3 separate regions of the Homo sapiens genome follow, and regions 1 and 3 are each linked to region 2. The links are contacts of gene promoters, found by promoter capture Hi-C in human tissues and cell types (Jung and others, 2019). All regions are on one chromosome and are shown on one strand. The core of a region is centred on a gene start or on the middle of the fragment in contact, and the rest is flanking DNA. Distances in the headings are between cores, read along the strand shown. Region 1 holds the start of NR0B2 (nuclear receptor subfamily 0 group B member 2). Region 2 holds the start of LOC105376888 (a long non-coding RNA gene). Region 3 holds the start of GPN2 (GPN-loop GTPase 2).

Evidence for each region. Contacts are between HindIII fragments. The study calls those that stand out against the background at their distance.
Region 1: a contact is called between the fragment with the promoter of NR0B2 here and a fragment that was not itself captured in region 2, in 1 of the 25 tissues and cell types used here (stomach).
Region 3: the fragment with the promoter of GPN2 here is called in contact with a fragment that was not itself captured in region 2 in 4 of the 25 tissues and cell types used here (dorsolateral prefrontal cortex, hippocampus, mesenchymal stem cells and 1 more).

Annotation. Positions count from the first base shown.
Region 1 is chr1:26,912,606-26,916,792 of GRCh38, forward strand. NR0B2 (nuclear receptor subfamily 0 group B member 2) reads right to left here and starts at 1,370. Exons shown (of 2, transcript NM_021969.3): 1 at 804-1,370. The coding sequence starts at 1,335. It also overlaps a transcript of NUDC not described here. RefSeq lists an enhancer at 2,837-3,337. The HindIII fragment of the contact is 33,061 bases long and covers 1-4,187 here.
Region 2 is chr1:26,686,389-26,690,964 of GRCh38, forward strand. It overlaps LOC105376888 (a long non-coding RNA gene), which reads left to right and starts at 2,794. Exons shown (of 3, transcript XR_001737950.2): 1 at 2,794-2,849; 2 at 3,903-3,977; 3 at 4,388-4,424. The HindIII fragment of the contact is 5,506 bases long and covers 1-4,576 here.
Region 3 is chr1:26,889,032-26,893,335 of GRCh38, forward strand. It overlaps GPN2 (GPN-loop GTPase 2), which reads right to left and starts at 1,252. Exons shown (of 5, transcript NM_018066.4): 1 at 655-1,252; 2 at 1-94. The coding sequence starts at 1,065. GPATCH3 (G-patch domain containing 3) reads right to left here. Exons shown (of 7, transcript NM_022078.3): 5 at 3,639-3,760; 6 at 3,380-3,507; 7 at 1,457-2,195. The coding sequence ends at 1,979. RefSeq lists enhancers at 413-1,290, 646-815, 1,326-1,595. The HindIII fragment of the contact is 5,015 bases long and covers 1-3,545 here.

The sequences.
Region 1 (4,187 bases), core at 120-2,619, 230 kb after region 2:
CTCTCCAGATTACAAACAGCACTGTCTCCATCTGCCGCTCTCCTGGCCGAATTCCATAAAGACTCCTTTCCTGTCCTCCCTACGCCCCTTTCAGTCATCTCTTCTATGTGATCTTTCTGAACCCACAGAGGAGTTTTAGCTCTAGAGCTTCACCATGCAGCCTTCCTTTGAGGATGTGACTGAGACACAGCTGTGTCTGCCCACCCCACCTCCCCACAGCCTTCTGTAAAGGTCAGAGCAAATTTCTCAGGCAGAGTGGCAAGGGCCAGTCTCTGGAGTGAATAGACCTGAGTTGCCATCCTGGTCTGTCCCTACCTGGCTGTGTTACCTTTAGCTAGTCACTTAGCTTCTCTGTGCCTCTTCTGTGAGATGGCTATTTGATGAAAATGAGGACTGGCCAAGCACGGTGGCTCACGCCTGTAATCCCAGCACTTTGGGAGGCCAAGGTGGGTGGATCACCTGAGGGGTTAGGAGTTCAAGACCAGCTTGATCAACATGGTGAAAGCCCATCTCTACTAAAAAGTACAAAAATTAGCCGGGAGTGGTGGCGGCCATCTGTAATCCCAGCTACTCGGGAGGCTGAGGCAGAGAAAATTGCTTGAACCCAGGAGGCAGAGGTTGCAGTGAGCCAAGATCGCACCACTGCACTCCAGACTGGGTGACAGAGTGAGACTCTGTCTCAGAAAAATAAAAAGAAAATGAGGACCCAATGAGATAACAGATATCAAACCCTTAGAAGCTACCTTCCCTGGCTGGCCCCTGCTTCAGCCTTGCCCCCCACCCAGGAGTGTCTGGGAGCTCACCGGGGTTGAAGAGGATGGTCCCTTTCAGGCAGGCATATTCCTTGGGGCTAAGCTCCAGGCTCCAGAAGGACTCCAGACAGCATTGAAGCCACTGCACCGCAGCCAGGGAGGGCTGGGGTCTGTCTGGCAGTTGGCCACTGCCTCCACTGCTGCTGGGCTCCTCCAGCAGAATCTTCTTGAGTATGCTGGGCACCGGGGCCTCAGCCACCTCAAAGGTCACAGCATCTTGGGCCAACCCAAGCAGGAAGAGGGGGCCCCAGCAACCCTGCAGCAGCCGCCGCTGGTCCTGGGGAGGCAGCTGCCAGAAGGATGGCAGGTTCCTGAGGAAGGCCACTGTCTTGGCCAGAACATCCAAGGCCTCCCGGCAGGTGCGATGAGGTGCACATAGCTGGACGGGCCGGTGCTGCCTACATAGGCAGCGGCTACGGGGTCGGGGGACAGCCTTGAGGCTGGAGCTCAGAAGTGCGTAGAGAATGGCGGGGCGGCTTGCAGCTCCCTGGCATGGGCAGGCCCCTGGTTGGCTGGTGCTCATGGTTAGGGATCTGCTCTCACTTCCAGCTCTCTGGCTCTGTGTTCTGCGCTGTGGGTGCTATTTATATTCCCAGTGAGTGGAACGGGGGGAATGGCCCAACAACCTTGACTCCAGAAGTCATGTTCATTGAAAAAAACACACAGACATTGCCCCTGGCAGGAATGGTGGGGAAGTGGTGGGGGAGGGGGCATTGGGAACCCCACGTGGCACTGATATCACCTCAGTCAATGAAGTGGCCGGTGCAGGGCACAGGGCCACCTGCCGCTCACTCAGCTGCCCCTTATCAGATGACTCAAGTGGATAAACAAGGTCATTAACTCAGGCTGTACCAGGGCACCAAGGCCCCAGGTGCACAATCAGCAGGTGTCCCCATTGGTGCCCGCTCTTGTGTGCACAAAAGACTAGGGCTTTTGCTAAGCCAGGAAGCCAGCCCCAGAGCTGGGTGGGCCTTGAATGCAAGGCCCAACCTGGAAGTGCCTTATCACTAGCTTGTTTGCCTAACCTTGGGGCCCTGCTTCTGTTGTCAGCCAGAAGCAGGCTACAGGGAAGGGAGCCAGGACCCTGGGGGCTGGGAGGACTTTGCCCACTGTCCAATCTAGGAGGCCTCCTCCTCTGATTCCAGTTCTGGGCCCCCTGCAGGAATAAGGTCCTTCAGAATCCTTATCCCCAGCCTGATTCCTACCACTCCTGAAAGGCCAGGTCTGCTGAGAAGAACTCACAGAATTATAATAAAAGATAGTTGCCAGCCGGGCACGGTGGCTCATGCCTGTAATCCCAGCACTTTGGGAGGCTGAGGAAGGGGGATCATTTGAGGTCAGGAGTTCAAGACCAGCCTGGCCAACATGGCAAAATCCCGTCTCTACTAAAAATACAAAAATTAGCCGGGCATGGTGGCATGTGCCTGTAGTCCCAGCTACTCTAGAGGCTAAGGCAAAAGAATCACTCGAAACTGGGAGGCAGAGGTTACAGTGAGCTGAGATCATGCCACTGCTCTCCAGCCTGGGCAACAGAGCAAGATCCTGTCTCAAAAAAATATATATGTATATGTATATGTATATGTATATGTATATGTATATTTATATGTATATGTGTATATATATATACACATACATACATACATATATATATATATATATGTATATATATGGTTGCCATTCTCTAAGCACTTATTATGTGTCAGGCACTTCCCACTCTAATATTGGCAGCCTCTTCCTAAGGCTAGATTCTTACTTTATGAGACTAAAAAAGCTAAAGTGACTTGCCCAAGGTCATCCCACCAGGAAGACAAAGCCCAGATCTTGCCTGACTCCAAAGTCCTTGTTTGTTTCCCTGGACCCACTGGCCCAATTGCACAGCCAGAGCCTGAGATTCTCAGAGCTTGTGGCTAGCTGCCCCCACCTTGCTGCTGCCTGCTTTGCAGACGTTGCCCACTTGTGATCTGGGCAGAAGTGTTGCTCTGCTGCCACGTGGCTCCTCTGTCCCGGGCATCTTTCTCAGATGGTGGAGCACAGGGGATGAGAGAAGGTGGAGAGGCCCTTGGTTGTGTCATGTTCCTGGACCTTGGCCAGTCCAGTGTGGCAAGCCTTCTGCTGCATGCTGTTGGGCAGCCTGGTGCCCTGGATGGGGAGAGAGAGGCTCTGGCATCACTAGCCCTGGCATCTGCTCCAGAATCCATCACTTTTTGGTTATGTGACTTGGGTTGATCCTTGAACCTCGATAAGCCTCCCTGGGACAATAATGCCTGGCTGTAGGGCTGCCATGGGGACAAAATGAGGTCCTGGTTGTTAAATTCCAAGTGGTTTCTGGCATACGGTAGGAGGATTTTTCTGCCCCTTTCCTCTGTGGAGCTGAGCACCAGTGGACAAACAGGCACACCTCTTTCATTTGATTATTAGTCTTAATCCTTAAATTTATAAAGTTCCTTTCATGTTTTTAAATCTCACTGAATTCTCACAGTGTCCCCTTGAAGCAGACTCTGGAGTCAGACTGGCTGGGTTCAAATCCTGCTTCACTTAGCTGAGTGACCTTGGGCAAATCACTTTCTCTTTCTGTGCCTCAGTTTCCTCATTTTTAAAACAGTGACAAGAATTTCTGGAGGTGGATATTGGTTTTATGGGGCCTGAAGGTTACGATTTGGAGGACCCTCTTTAAGAATAGAATACACACTCGGTTACGGTGGCTCACGCCTGTAATCACAGCACTTTGGGAAGTTGAGGTGGGAGGATCACTTGAGGCTTCAGGAGTTCAAGATCAGCCTGGTCAACACAGTGAGACCTCATCTCTACCAAAAAAAAAAAATTAGCCAGTGTGGTGGGGCATATCTGTAGTCCCAACTACTTGAGAGGCTGAGGCAAGAGGATGGTTTGAGCCCAGGACTTCAAGGCTACAGTGAGTTATGACTGTGTTACTGCCCTCCTGCCTTGCTCTAGACAGAGCAAGACTCTGTCTAAAAAAAAACGAAAAAACCCCACACACAAAACCTCCCCTTAGACCCTGAATATTTATATTTATTTGATCAATGTGGTCAATGGGAACCCTTTCAAGCTGGTGTCTGTGTCATTTTGGCCTGCTTCCATAATTCCTGGAACACTTGCTTTCTGGTATAGCAAGATATCAACTTTTCCAGCCCCTGGAATCAACCAATACTCCAAAGAGCTCTGATTTAATCTTTTAGTGGAAAATAATATTTAGAAAGCATGAAGTAGGCACTAGAATCATACTAAAAAACCAAGAACTGGCCGGGCACGGTGGCTCACACCTGTAATCTGGACTTTGGGGGCTGCAGTGGGTGAGCTGCTTGAGCCCAGGAGCTCAAGACCAGCTTGGAAACATGGTGAAACCCCATCTCTACA
Region 2 (4,576 bases), core at 1,018-3,517:
TCTCCATGTGTTGCCCAGGAGTGTGGTAGCTATTCACAGGCACAATTATAGCGAACTGTAGCCTTGGATTCCAGGCCCCAGGAAATACTCCCACCTCAGCCTCCCGAGTAGCCACTGTACCTGACAAAATGAGGGATCTTGATCTGAGTGCTAGGAACTTATAAACAAATATTGAATCCAACAGGCTTGTACTATTTTGGAGGTATGTTTTTCCTTTTAAGTAGATATCAGCTTATAATGTACTTTATGGGAGGTACAACAGTAGTGTATACTCAATGTTGTATATCATAGTAGAGTAATTATAAGAGGATCTCCCATTTATAGTAAACTGAATGAAAGGATTGACATCCCAAACCAAAAAGTGGAAAATGGCAAACTGGTTTCAAAATATCATAGTGAAGAGATGGCTATTCTACTGGAGGGGACCCTCTGCTCTGATGCTTCTAAGCAGACATAGTCCTTATAACTGGATTTTGTGAGTCTATTTGAAATCCTGGTTATTACAGTTTATGAATGGATACAGCCATTTGGAAACCTGACTTAGAATGAAAGTCTAGACATTTGTCTCAAAAGTAGAGCTAGCTCTCAAACTATATGCTCCTTGCTTTGAATACTGAGTAGGGCATAAGCCTTTAACTTTCCTTTCCTCATCTCCTACTCCCACTCACTTCCAAGAAGAACACCTCTGTAGAGTTTTCATCTGTCTTTGTAGTACTCCATTCCTGTAAATTCCTTCTCCACGTTTTTGCTATTTCATTTAGTTTGGAAAATGGCAGTGTGGAATATGTTTGGTATAACCTTAATCCTGGCCAGCGTCTCTGATCCCTAAAAAAAAAAGTATACATACATATATATATATATAAAAATATATATATATTTAGAGAGAGAGCGAGTGTGTGTTTTCTGGGGTTAAAAACACAGAAGTAAAAACCTTAAACACAATAGAAAACAAACCTCCCTTATTATCCAGGTCCCCTGCATATTTTTAGTTGTTTAGAAAATGTTTCTCCTGGGTCGGGCATGGTGGCTCATGCCTGTAATCCCAGCACTTTGGGAGGCCAAGGCGGGTGGATTACCTGAGGTTGGGAGTTCGAGACCAGCCTGACCAACATGGAGAAACCCCCGTCTCTACTAAAAATACAAAAATTAGCCTGGCGGGGTGGCGCATGCCTGTAATCCCAGCTACTTGGGAGGCTGAGGCAGGAGAATCGCTTGAACCTGGGAAGTGGAGGTTGTCGTGATCCAAGATCGGGCCATTGCACTCCAGCCTGGGCAACAAGAGTGAAACTCCATTTCAAAAAACAGAAAAAAAGAAAATGTTTCTCCTGTTGTTCCTGTTAAATATTTCTCATATTTTGGCATCACACACAAAAATATGATGCCAGAGGTTTGTGTGTATGTGTGTGCATGTGTGTGGTGGAGGTGAGGGGGAGACTTGGTCCTATAGCACGGTGTGCAATGGTGAAGAACCTACTAAATTAATTAATCTTCACATTAGCAGATAACTGAGAATATGAATCACTCACAGGCAGTCAAAAGGTGATGTCAGTGAACAGTTATGGCACAGCATGACTGCTCCTGTTTGACACTGCATTTAGTCCTAGCACTACTGCTATTGCAGGGCTCTCCTATGAATTTTATTGTGGAATTTCAGAAATTTCTACTGCCAGTTGGGTGCAGTGGCTCATGCCTGTAATCCCAGCACTTTGGGAGGCCAAGGTGGGAGGATCATTTGAGCCCAGGAATTCAGACCAGCCTGGGCAATATGGCGAACCCTGTCTCTACGAAAAAATTTTTAAAAATTACCTGGATGTGGTGGCACATGCCTGTAGTCCCAGCTATTAGGGAGGCTGAAGCAGGAAAACCACCTGAGTCCAGGGAGGTCAAGGCTGCAGTAAGCCATGGTCACACCACTGAACTCCAGCCTGGGCAACAGAGTGAGACCCTGTCTCAAAAAATAAATAAAATAAAGTAAAATAAAATTCTACTGCCAAGTAGTAGCTAAATGTAATTCCCCCCCCCCGACCCCCCACCCAAGACAGAGTCTTGCCCTCGGGTGCAGTGGCACTATCTCAGCTCACTGCAACCTCTGCCTCCTGGGTTCAAGCAATTCTCCTGCCTCAGCCTCCCAAGCAGCTGGGATTACAGGCACCCGCCACCACGCCCAGCTAATTTTTCCATTTTTAGTAGACAGGGCTTCACCATGTTGACTGAGCTGGTCTCAAACTCCTGACCTCAGGTGATCCGCCCGCCTTGGCCTCCCGAAGTGCTGAGATTACAGGTGTAAGCCACAGTGCCCGGCGCTAAATGTAATTTCTATAGCATTAATAAGTATTCCAGGAGGTAGTTAAATCAAGGAACAAGGTACTTAATGAAGTTTTAAAATACAGCTTTGGAATGGTTATTATTAGCAATCATCATACTGTTAATTTCTAGTTGAAAGAATAACAGGCTCACAAAAATTTCTAAGTCTTAGGAGAAGACCGATTTTGGTGGAAAGTGGGTCAGAAGAGCATGTGCAACTCAAGGATTGCTGAGGATGAACAAGTGCATAGGGTAAAGTTGCTTCATCATGAAAGGTGAGTATTTAGGGTAGAGACTGCGGTCTTGGTCTACATTACTTGGTTGAGATTATAAAATGGTTTCTGTCGACCCTCTCTACAATCAGTGACAAATTGTACTAATAATGATGGACTCCTAAAAACCCTCAGTAGCCAATCAGGTTGCAACCTCCTTCACCTTGAAGCTTTTTCCTAGAGAATATTTTCTTTCCGAAGGTTGTGTGGTACTTCCACTCTCCTTGATTCCACCTTGGAAACACTGGCTACTACTTCATAAAGAACTGGAAGGTAGGTGTGGTGGAGTCAACTAGAATCCCTCTTTTCTAAACCCTTTGGACTTCCAACTTTATCTGGGCTAAAGGGGCAAACACGTTAGCCACAAACTCGGGTTTTTGTTAGACAGAGTATCCATATTTTATTTATTTATTTATTTATTTAATTTTTTGAGACGGAGTCTCGCTCTGTCACCCAGGCTCGAGTGCAGCGGCGTGATCTCGGCTCACTGCAAGCTCTGCCTCCCGGGTTCACGCCATTCTCCAGCCTCAGCCTCCTGAGTAGCTAGGACTACAGGCGGCCGCCACCACGCCCAGCTAATTAGAGTATCCATATTTTTAAGTAGCTGTGAGTGATTAGGAGAAAAATACTTCAATGAGCTCTTGGGCTTTGTTCTGAAGTCGAAAGGGCCTAGTAAAAATGTGTAATCTCCATCCTGGTTTTGGTGTTTGGGGCAAAAATAGTGCCTAATGTTGCACAACACTGTGTGCTCTTGAGTGTAGTTTGCGGATGAGTTATATTAATGAATACACATTGTGATAGAGGTGTGTGTGTGTGTTTCCGTGCTTTTTTTTTTTTTTTTTTTTTTGGAGACGGAGTCTCATTCTGTTGCCCAGGCTGGAGTGCAGTGGCACAATCTCGGCTCACTGCAACCTCTGCCTCCTGAGTTCAAGCGATTTTCTCCTGCCTCAGCCTCCTGAGTAGCTGGGATTATAGGTGCCTGCCACCATGCGCAGCTAATTTTTGTGCTTTTAGTAGAGACGGTGTTTCACTATGTTGGCCAGGCTGGTCTCGAACTCCTGACCTCAAGTGATCTGCCAGCCTCGGCCTCCCGTATTGTTTTTAAATGGCTTGTTGGATAGGCTTGATGAAGTGTGCTGGATTATTTCCTCCATTGTCTCCTGTTCTCTCCCTCCCACAGCAAGACTAGAAGAGCAACAACACACTTCTATACAGGTCTCTAGTAGTCTCTTTGGAGGGGTAGGCCAATAAGAACCAACCTGCTGGTCCCTACCCCCAACCCCTCTGGTGACTTCTGAATCCAGTTTCAATATTGTTAAATTTCAGGGAAGAAAGTGATAATGTGGAAAAGTGCCAAAACTCAGTCTGATTTTTCCTGGCAGCTTTCCCTTGGTGTCATTGGTAAGTTCCGCATTTCACTGGAGTGGAGTGCCACACTGCTACTATGACTATAGTAGTCACTCCCACGCCTGACTTTTTTGTTTGGTCCATTTTATCTTTAGGAATAGGCATTTTCTGTAGGGATAGATGGGTTTAAACCCTATTAAAGCTAGTCAGAATGTTTTTCATTAGGGGCCACTCAATTCCTGTCTTATACCTAATAGATTTCTTTGGATTTTCTTTGATTCTTATACAAAAACACCCAGTATCATCATGCTGGAGGATTCTCTTAAGGTGGTTGCTTTGCAGAGAACAGACAGCACATTTGCTTTTTTAGCCACCTATCCTATTTCATAGGACTGCATGCCTGCCTCCCTCCATTTTGTCTGTGCTTACACTGTTTTTTCCTTCTCTTTCCAACTCTTCTACAGAACTTGTGTTGGAATAAAAGACTCCATTCCAGATCCATTCCAGAGTTGCTGTGAGAAACTTCCCCACTGACTCTTTTTCCTAACTCAGTAAAATGGCAGTGTAAGAAAGCTTTATGCAGGCAAGGGCTGAAAGAAATCTCCACCTAGAATACAGTGTTTGATTTTTCCTTCTGATTTTCTTGTCAACTC
Region 3 (4,304 bases), core at 2-2,501, 200 kb after region 2:
CGTGCAGCATGGTGGCCAGGGAGGTACACAGTACTGAAATGAACTTGGCAGGGTCTGTGCAGTAGTGAGAATCCACGAGGTGGACGGCAGTCAGCTGGGAGGGAATAGACAGGGTGAGAGTGGCCTGGAGAAACAGGGATCAGCATTCCCTCATGAGAATGAGGGCTTGAGGACAGAGGGGAAGCTTTCCCCATTAGTCTCCTGCCTCTGTTTCTTTCTAATAACCACCCTGGTTTCCTTCTCCCAGGAAATAGGAGTCATTTTTTTTTTCTTACAAGAGGTCTTGCACTGAGCCTCCCAGTGGGCAAGGGGTTTAAATCCCATGGCATCTGACTCCACTCTTTCATTTACTTTTGCCCACCAATTTACAACAATCTCCATGCCACTTTCGACATTAACCCCTTCCATACTTCCAAAATCGCCAAGTTGGCTACTAACACATTTTACACGTGAGGAAACTGAGGTTCAGAGTGATGAACTGACTTATCAACACCACACAGCCAGTCAGTAGCAGAGCCAGATTCTGAACTCATGCCTGTTTTACTCCAAAGCGACCCAGCCCCTACCTCCCTGTGTGACATGGGGGCGTGGCGTCTGTCCTCCCTGTCTCAGTTACTCCATCCGCAAAATGGGCCTCCCCGCCCTGAGACGCACCCTGAGGTCCCACTGCGCCATTTGGGAGAAGATGCTGCGCAAGGCGCCGTGATGCGTGCAGAGCTCCACCTGGCCTGGGCAGTCGAAGAGGAAGTAGTGGCCGCGGAGGGGGTCGAGCTTGGCACGCAGCCAGTCCAGGTTGGCTTCCAGGTACTCCATGCAGTAGAGCAGGCCGCCGTTGGGCCCCAGGCGCAGCGCGTCCATCACGTCGCCCAGCCCCACCAGCTCGCCCACGTCCACGGCACACTCGTACGGCAGCCCCTCGTTGGCCGGGTCCAGGTTCACCACCGCCACGCGCCGGCCCAGCGCGCGCAGGAACTCACTCATGCCCAGGCAGTACGTGGTCTTCCCTGAGCCCGGCGGGCCGATCACCGCCTGCCCGAAGGCCGTGGTCGGAGCGGCCCCTGCCATTGGCGGCCCGCGGCCCGGAGCAGGTCAACTCACAGGGAAAACGGGGCAGGTAGCCGCGCCGGAGACGAGACTGAGGGCGAGGGTCCCAGTACGTATACCTCGTTGGCGGCCAGCGTCACTCGCCTCAGGCGGAACAGCTGAGACCGTGTCGCGCAAAAGGAGATAACAGGCCGATACTAACTAGACTAACTCGACTTCCGGACAGCGTCGGAAACGGCGAGCCAACGAGAGGAAGTCCCGCCCTCACGGCGGGGACGAAGCTAGACGCCGAGGGGCGGGCGGCGCAGCCGCATTTCTCTCGCGGGTAGTGGGTCGAATGTGGGGTCTTTGCGGGAAAATCGCTCTCGGAATTTCTCTAACCTTCAGACTCGAATTAGAAAAGTAAGGGAGCTCCAGTAGTAAACGTCTTTATTCTTCCGTGACGTCGCACACCCAAGCCACCTCCCGCGGACTCTCCGCTGGCAGTCCCACCCAGTGAGGGTAGAGGCGGTGGAGGGCCCACCCAAGGCCGGCTCTTCCAAGCACCACAAATCCTCTCCTCGCCCAGGTCCCTTTCCCCCTTTCTGGCCTTCGTGGGGACACCTTCAGAGTCCCCAAGGAAGGCTGTGCTGATAGCCTCACTCAACCCAGCTTTTCAAAGTTCTGCAGGAGGCAAAGGGCAAGCCCAGAGATTAGGGTTAGAGACCAAAGACAAGCGGTCGTTACCCCTAATATCCAAGGGGAGGGGACGGGAGGGGGCTTTTTGTAAAAATGCCCCTGAGGTATAGAACCGGCAGGCAGGCAGGCTCGGAACAAAACACCCTGAACCAGCCACGAAGACTGCTGCTCCCAGACTCCTTTCTGCTTCAGTGGTAGATGAGGCCAGGGCAGAGGGTTTTCATCATGTAGCTATGAAAGGAAGCCCCCAACCCGGTCAGTCAGGCAATGAGGGGCTGTCTGAAGCACAACTGGAACCCCTCACAAAGGCCATGTCTGTCCGAAACTTCATGCTGGTGGGTGGCTGGCGGCGGAGCAGTGACTCCGTCTGGTCTTGGGGTAGAGGCTCATCATAGATGGTGGAGATGAGCCCCAAGCCATTTCTACGGGGCCTCTTCAGTTGCCCAAATGGCTGTAGCTTCTCTCCATGGTACCTGGATAAAAACGGGCTCTCAGTGAGAAGGCTGCTCTCAAACTCCAGTTAAAGGGGTTGGGAGAGGACGGGGAAGTAGTTACTACATATCTGGTTTGTCCAAAGACAGAGGCTTTAAATCTGGGTCTTTGTTCTCCAGCCCTCTTATCTATCCATTGACAGTGCCAGCAAGAAGGGGCCTCATATAAAATTTTCATTCTGTCACTACAGACTTCCTAATAGTAACCATCAAGTCCAAACTCCTCCAACAAAGGGTATGAATGATCTTGTTAAGCCTTAGGGCTTACTCTTTAAAAAAAAAAAAAAAGTCAGATTTACTTTATTTATTTATTTATTTCTGAGATGGGGTCTCACTATGTCACCCAGGCTGGATTGTAATGGCGTGATCTCGGCTCACTGCAACCTCCACCTCCTGGGTTCAAGCGATTCTCCTGCCTCAGCCTCCAGAGTAGCTGGGACTACAGGCGCATGCCACCATGCCCAGCTAATTTTTTTTTTTTGTGACAGAGTCTTGCTCTGTCACCCAGGCTAGAGTGCAGTGGCGCCATCTTGGCTCACTGCAACCTCTGCCTCCTGGGTTCAAGCGATTTTCCTGCCTCAGCCTCCTGAGTAGCTGGGATTACAGGCACCCACTACCGTGCCCAGCTAATTTTTTGTATTTTTAGTAGACACAGGGTTTCACCATCTTGATCAGGCTGGTCTGAAACTCCTGACCTCGTGATCCACCCGCCTCAGCCTCCCAAAGTGCTAGGATTACAGGCATGAGCCACTGCGCCCGGCTAATTTTTGTATTTTTAGTAGAGACGGGGATTTCACCATGTTGGCCAGGCTGGTCTCTAACTCCTGACCTCAAATGATCTGCCCACCTGGGCCTCCCAAAGTGTTGGGATTACAGGCGTGAGCTACCACGCCCGGACTTTTTATTTTTCTAACAGAGACAGTCTCATATGTTGCCCGGCTGGTTTCAAACTGGGCTCAAGGAATCCTACCACTTCAGCCTCCCAAAGCGCTAGGATTACAGGCTTGAGCCACCGTGCCTGGCCCAGATCCACTTTTTCCTCTTAACTGTTTTGAATTTCATCCCGCACGAGTACCCAGCAGCCATGCCAAAACCAGTGGGAAGAGGGAAACCAGGGCATAGCTGAAAGGCTTGGGCCCCCAGGGAAGTCCCTCAGTCACACTTACCCCAATCCACGCTTGCATCTGGGGTGTTGGCCATCACTATCCAGGGCCTCAGGCACCCCTGAGCACCTGCAGCCCAGGCCCTGGCCCTCAGCCCAGCCCTGCCGCTCCATCACCTTCCGCCCAATGCCCTGCAGAGTGAAGGGACAAGACTCAAGAAATGGGGCTCCTGCTGGGAGCAGGGAGAATGGGGATGGGAGAAGGAATTAAAGTAGAGAAGGAAAAGAGAGGGGTCCATGGGGTGGGCACAGTGCTAACTCACCTTGGTGTGGCGCTCAAAGGTGCCCACCTGGCGTTCGATCACAGAGCCATCTTCCTGTCCATCTCGGAGTCTCTGTTCCAGACGCATTTGGACAGAGTCTCGGGCATCCTTGTCTCCACCATCTGAGGAAACAGAGCTCAGTTTATGGAAGCGTCCCTCTCAAAGAAGGGGGAAGAATCAGGTTTCTAGGACCCCCTCGTAAGATTGACTTATTCATTTTAATAGTGTTCTGTATCTCTCTCATTAGACTGGGAGCTCCCCAAAAGTAGGAACCATGGCTCTCCCCAATCATACAGATGAGAAGATTGTGGTGCAGAAAAGTAACAGAGCCAACAAATGACAGAGAGAGGATTAGAACCCAGGTCTTCCCTCCCCTACTTGGCTATTTCCCCCACCCGGGTCATTTCCTCTTCTAAAATCTAAACCCTTACTAGAGCCTGAGCTTCTGACCAGCCCACCCTACCAGGGCCTGACCATCAGACCTAGAGCCCCTAAGGGCTATCTATCCCTCCTCCTCCTCCAAGAAAGGATGAAGGCTCTGTCCAAAACTAGCACTTAATGTACACAACCAAAGATGTTTTAAGAGGAACCCTCTCAGTGGGCTACCCCAAGGGAACGGGAACGGTACCCTGTCTCAGCCTTTGCTAGCTCTGGTAAAGTGTCACT